Linked DNA regions of Homo sapiens: region 1 is linked to region 2. The links are contacts of gene promoters, found by promoter capture Hi-C in human tissues and cell types (Jung and others, 2019). All regions are on one chromosome and are shown on one strand. The core of a region is centred on a gene start or on the middle of the fragment in contact, and the rest is flanking DNA. Distances in the headings are between cores, read along the strand shown.

The links. The method cuts DNA at HindIII sites, captures the fragments that hold promoters and counts their contacts. A contact is called where the count stands out against the background at its distance.
Region 1: a fragment that was not itself captured here is called in contact with the fragment with the promoter of BCR in region 2 in 1 of the 25 tissues and cell types used here (spleen).

Annotation. Positions count from the first base shown.
Region 1 is chr22:23,534,545-23,537,244 of GRCh38, reverse strand. It overlaps LOC124900476 (endogenous retrovirus group K member 5 Gag polyprotein-like), which reads right to left and starts at 364. Exons shown (of 2, transcript XM_047441690.1): 1 at 109-364. RefSeq lists enhancers at 178-794, 1,410-2,026, 2,027-2,642. The HindIII fragment of the contact is 4,075 bases long and covers 1-2,700 here.
Region 2 is chr22:23,179,122-23,181,821 of GRCh38, reverse strand. BCR (BCR activator of RhoGEF and GTPase) reads right to left here and starts at 1,313. Exons shown (of 23, transcript NM_004327.4): 1 at 1-1,313. The coding sequence starts at 861. It also overlaps a transcript of RSPH14 not described here and the pseudogene BCRP8. RefSeq lists silencers at 783-862, 883-1,152, 1,223-1,462 and an enhancer at 1,583-2,393. The HindIII fragment of the contact is 16,176 bases long and covers 1-2,700 here.

The DNA of each region.
Region 1 (2,700 bases), core at 41-2,540, 360 kb before region 2:
GGTGGCCTGCCCCTCCACACCTCTGGGTGTTTCTCATCAGGTGGAATGAGAGACTTTACTTTTAGTTTGCCCCATTAACCCTGGCTTCTTCCGAGCGCCCAAGCTTACCACAAGGCTCACTGTAGACGTACTCGGGAATCTCTCGTTGACTTGTCCTCAATGACCACACTCGAGAGTCCCTTCACCCTAGAGAAAAGCATCCACGTTGGGCACCAGATGGAGTGGCCTGCGCCTCCACAGCTGTGGGCATTTCTCCTCAGGTGGAACGAGAGACTTGAGAAAAGAAAGACAACAGAGACAAAGTATAGAGAAAGAAAAGTGGGCCCAGGGGACCGGCGCTCAGCATATGGAGGACCCGCGCCGCACCGGTCTCTGAGTTCCCTCAGTATTTATTGATCATTATCTCTACCATCTCGGAGAGGGGGATGTGGCAGGACAATAGGGTAATAGTGGGGAGAGGGCCAGCAGGAAAACATGTGAACAAATGTCTCTGCATCATAAACAAGGTAAAGAAAAAAGTGCTGTGCTTTTGATGTGCATATACATAAACATCTCAATGCCTTAAAGAGCAGTATTGCCGCCAGCATGTCCCACCTCCAGCCCTAAGGCAGTTTTCTCCTATCTCAGTAGATGGCATATACAATCAGGCTTTACACCAAGACATTCCATTGCCCAGGGATGAGCAGGAGACAGATGCCTTCCTCTTATCTCAACTGCAAAGAGGCCTTCCTTCCTCTTTTACTAATCCTCAGCACAGACCCTTTACGGGTGTCGGGCCAGGGGACAGTCAGGTCTTTCCCTTCCCAAGAGGCCATATTTCAGACTGTCACATGGGGAGAAACCTTGGACAACACCTGGCTTTCCTAGGCAGAGGTCCCTGCGGCCTTCCGCAGTGTTTGTGTCCCTGCTTACTTGAGATTAGGGAGTGGTGATGACTCTTAACAAGCTTGCTGCCTTCAAGCATTTGTTTAACAAAGCACATCCTGCACAGCCCTGAATCCATTAAACCTTGAGTCAACACAGCACCTGTTTCTGTGAGCACAGGGTTGGGGCTAGGGTTACAGATTAACAGCATCTCAAAGCAGAAGAATTTTTCTTAGTACAGAACAAAATGGAGTCTCTTATGTCTATTTCTTTCTACATAGACACAGTAACAGTCTGATCTCTCTTTCTTTTCCCCACACTAGCCAAAGGCAGTCCTTGTCCCACAGGGGCCCAGGAAGAATGTCCTAGTAGATGGCAGTGGCAGAGGGAGGCCCTAGAGGTACAGCAGTGGAGGGGACATGAAGCTGCTCCTGAGCTGGACCTGGGCGTCCTCTAGTTCATCCCAGTGTGGGGTTTTGAACTGTGCACTCTGTCAGCAAAGAGAATTTGGAGACAAATAGAAGAGGGGCTCCAAGGTAGTGGGAGAAGCTCAAGTGAGCATTTACTCAACAGCCTCCACCACCAGAATCTTTCTCAGGGGCTGAAGATGTGGTGGGTGGCACACAGCGTCACACAGGACACACAGGTCCTGCGGAGGAGACGCGGTACCATGAGATACGAGGAAACACAGACGTCAGGAGAAGACAGTGGTGGAGAGCGAAGTGCTCCAGGCCAGAGCCTGTGGCCTCCAGCTCCCCTTACAACAGCCCCCAGAGGCCGCCCCCAGTTTGTGGGTAAGGAAGCTGAGGCCCGAAGACCTGAATCAGTGACCAGCAAACATCGAGGCAAATTTGAACAGAGGCTCAGCCTCAGTGGGCGGCTGCGAGCTGCTGAATTGTGACTGAAGTGGCACACAGGGACAGGGACGGTGCTCAGGGCCGGCCTCTCATAGGGCTTTTGAGCTGGGGCTCGATGGACCAAGTCTTGGCTCTGGGCTGGGCACACGGCTTTTTGGCAGGCATCTCACTTCTGGGTAGCCTGCCTGTGGCTCCATTCTAGCGACCAGGAGCCTGAGGCCCACAGAGCTTACGGAGCAGCCTGAGTTCTCAGGGCTGGGGAGAGTAGCCAGGGGCTCAGACCTCGCCGTGCCATGCTGGCCCGTCCACCATGCTGCCCTGTTCTCACACGGCCAAGTGCTCCCAGCACACAGGAGGAGTCCAGGCGGGAAAGGGATGGAGGATGAACGTGACCAGGCCTTGCCTTCGGAGGGGTGAAGGTCTTCCCAGTGTCCCCCAGCCCCCCTGCCCACTCCCAGAGGGACGGCCCTGCAAGCGGTGGCCACCAGGACCTTGCAGGGGGTGAGGGTCCAGGCTGCCGAGGAACCAAGGAGAGGCCGCCCTCGCTTCCCACATGCCCGGGCCCTGGGTCCCTCAGCCTCCCGCTGGCCTTGCCACCCAGCTCTCACAGACACTGGCTCAGGAGCAAGCAGGAGACCCCTGGGGTGACCTGCCAGACCTGCTGGGCCCAGGCTCAAACCCTGCAGCCACTCCCGGCCTGGCCACTCCACCATGTCTCCCAGCCCCATCTCCCTCTTGAGGGCCACGTCTCTGGGTTTTGTGAGGCTGAATTCTTCTCAGCTCTCAGGTGTTAAGACTGTCTCCTCAAAGAGGCCTTCCTGAGCCCCCGCTCCATGACTATCCTGCCAGCATTCTCTCTTCCTCGGGTGGCTGTGGGTTTGTTCCTGCCCAGGTGGAGTGGGCTACTTCCCGCCACGCTGTCCCTCTACCCTTAGGATCCAGGGCAGACCAGTGGGGGCGGGGGGAGTTTCGCCGCAGA
Region 2 (2,700 bases), core at 64-2,563:
CATGCCCCCGACGTAGATGCTCTGGTAGGGCTGGTACTCCAGGGGCGGCCAAGGGGGCCTGCTACCGCCATTGGCGTCGATCAGGTTGTCCTTCAGGAAGCGGGGGTTCAACTCGGCGTCCTCGTAGTCGCCGTCGACGCCGCAGCTGCTCTCCGAGGAGCGTCCCCGGTAAGGGGGCCTGGATGCATCCCCCACGCTCGAGCCCGCGCCGTGCTGGGACTTTTTGCGCTCCATCTGCATGGCCTGGCTGCCCAGGGAGCTGATGCGGTCCGACACCTCTTTGTCGTTGACCTTCACCAGGCCGCGCTCGTGGTGAAACTCGACGTTCACGTAGAAGGGCTTCTCGGCGTCCGCCCCGGGCTGGCCATGGCCCTTGCGGATCCGCTCGAAGTTGGACCTGAGCGCCGCCACGCTGGCGGGGGGTCCCCGGTCGTCCCGTTCCCCCGACGCGGCTGCCCCGGGCCTGCGGGCGGTCCCGGGCCTGGCCTTACCCGGAGAACCCTCGCCGTCGGGCCGGGCCTCGGGCTCCTCGGCGGGCGGCGGGTCGGCTCCGTCGGCGGGCGCTGGCTGCGGGCGCGACGCGGACGCTCGGGGCTCGGAGGCGCCGTCGGGGGCCTGCGCCGCGCGCCGGAAGCCCCATCGCTGCCGGTCATAGCTCTTCTTTTCCTTGGCCAGCAACGTCTGCAGGTAGATCATGCGGAAGCGCTCCTGGTTCACCTCCTGCTCCAGGCGCCGAATGGAGGCCTTGCAGCGCTCCAGCTCCTGCTCGATGTCGCCCACTGAGCGCAGCTCCATGCGCGGGGGCTCTGAGTCCGGGAACTGCGCCTTCCACGCCTCCGCGAAGCCCACCGGGTCCACCATGGCGCGGCCGGCCTTACCTGCGCCGCCGGGCTGCGCGCGGGGCCCGTCTCAGCGGCGGCGCGGCGCCTCGCCAGCCCGGCCCCGGGCGCCGGGCGGCCCCCATGGCCCGCGCGGCGGCGGCGGCGGCGAACAATGCCCGCCCACTCCCTGGTGGCAGGTGAGGCGGAGCGGGGCGCTCGGCGCGCGGGGCGGGGCGCGCCGGGGGGAAGGGCGCGGGCTGCGCGCGCCGCTATTGTGTGCGGGGCTCCTCCGCACGGCGAGGCGCGGGCGCTGCTCTCCGCTCCGCCAGGCCGCCGCCAGACTCTGGCCACGGCCCGCGCGCTCCTCGCCTCTCGCTTCCGCACCGCCCCACAGCCCCGCCGCCGCCGTGCCGCCGCCGCCGCCGCCGCCTCCTCGGACGCTAAGCTCAGCCAGCCGGCTCTCGCCGCACTCCCGCCCGGCCCGCACTCTGCGCCGCAGGAAGGGGAGGGCCGGGGGGAGGTGGCCGCGGCGCGGATGACGGAGCCAGGCGGGCCTCTTAAAGGGGCCGCGCCGTGGGCACAGGGCGGGGGGGCCCCCTGGAGGCGGCTCCCCCATCGAGCCGCCACCCTCCCCCCGTCCCTGTGCCTTTTGGGAAACTGAGGCCCTAACAACAGCGAATTGGACTGTGCAACTCGCAGCCCAGGGGTCCCCCGTAAAAAAGACACCGGACTCCCTGGTCCATAAAGACCTTTCCAATACAGAGGTCTGGGCCAGTTCTGCAGTCCTGGAACAGGAACACTTGGCTCCCCTCCGGCCAGGAGGACTTCTCCGGCCAGTCCAGCCGCGTGTCCCCAAGCCCCACCACCTACCTCATGTTCCGGGACAAGAGCTGCTCTCTCTGGCAGAACTCGCAGCAGTCCTCCGACAGAAGCAACCTCCCCCCTCTGCCCCTACCACGCCGCAGTGCCATAAGCGTCACCGGCACTGCCCAGTCGTCGTGTCAGAGGCCACCATCGTGGGCATCTGCAAGACCAGGCAGATCTGGCCCAACGATGCGGAGGGCACCTTCCATGGAGACGCAGGTAAGTTCCTCACACCTCACAGCCTGGCCTCTCACCAGCCTCAGGGCTGGGCACACTAGGGACCACCCAGCAGGGCCCAACTCACAGAGAGGCCAGGACCAGGCAGGTCACCCCGCAAGGCAGGGAGGGCCAGGCTGAGTAACCAATGCCAGCACCCTTGTTTCAGCGGGCCTCTCACGTTGTGGATCTGCTGTGGGTGGCTGCCACACGGGTTTGTCACAGCAGGACCACATGATGGATGATAAATAGGGATTTCTCCCTCAGGTCACTCAATACCCACACCTGCCTTCCTGTGTGCTGAGCCATGTGTTTGTCCCCTGGCCTCTCTTGAGCTCCAGAGGTCAATGTAGTTTTTCCAGGACGACCTGACTCAGAACTTCCCTGATTAGCCTCCCTCTAAGGGGGCGGCCAACCTGCACTGAGGTTCACAGGGCTGGGTGGAAGACAGCCCAGAGCAGGGAGTGAAACAAAACCTTTGATGGTTCTCTGGGGACACAGAGATCTGAGACACAGTGGAGAGCACTCTGCAGGGACTCTGATGGGCACAAACTGAAAATACCCAAACCAGCCCGCTGGGTTGGGGGAAAAGGAAACAGGATTTGGCAAATGAATTACTGGGCTTGAGTCCTGACCACCTCTCCCTCTCTGCCTCAGTTTCCTTGAAGTGAGAAGCACATCTGCCTCCAAGTGCTGTTGTCCCTGTGTGGATGTTAGGGATTATCATGCCCTCCTCCCAATGCCAGCGTCATCTGGAGCAGATACTTTGAAGTCCAATCTAAAGGACTGAGCCCAGGCT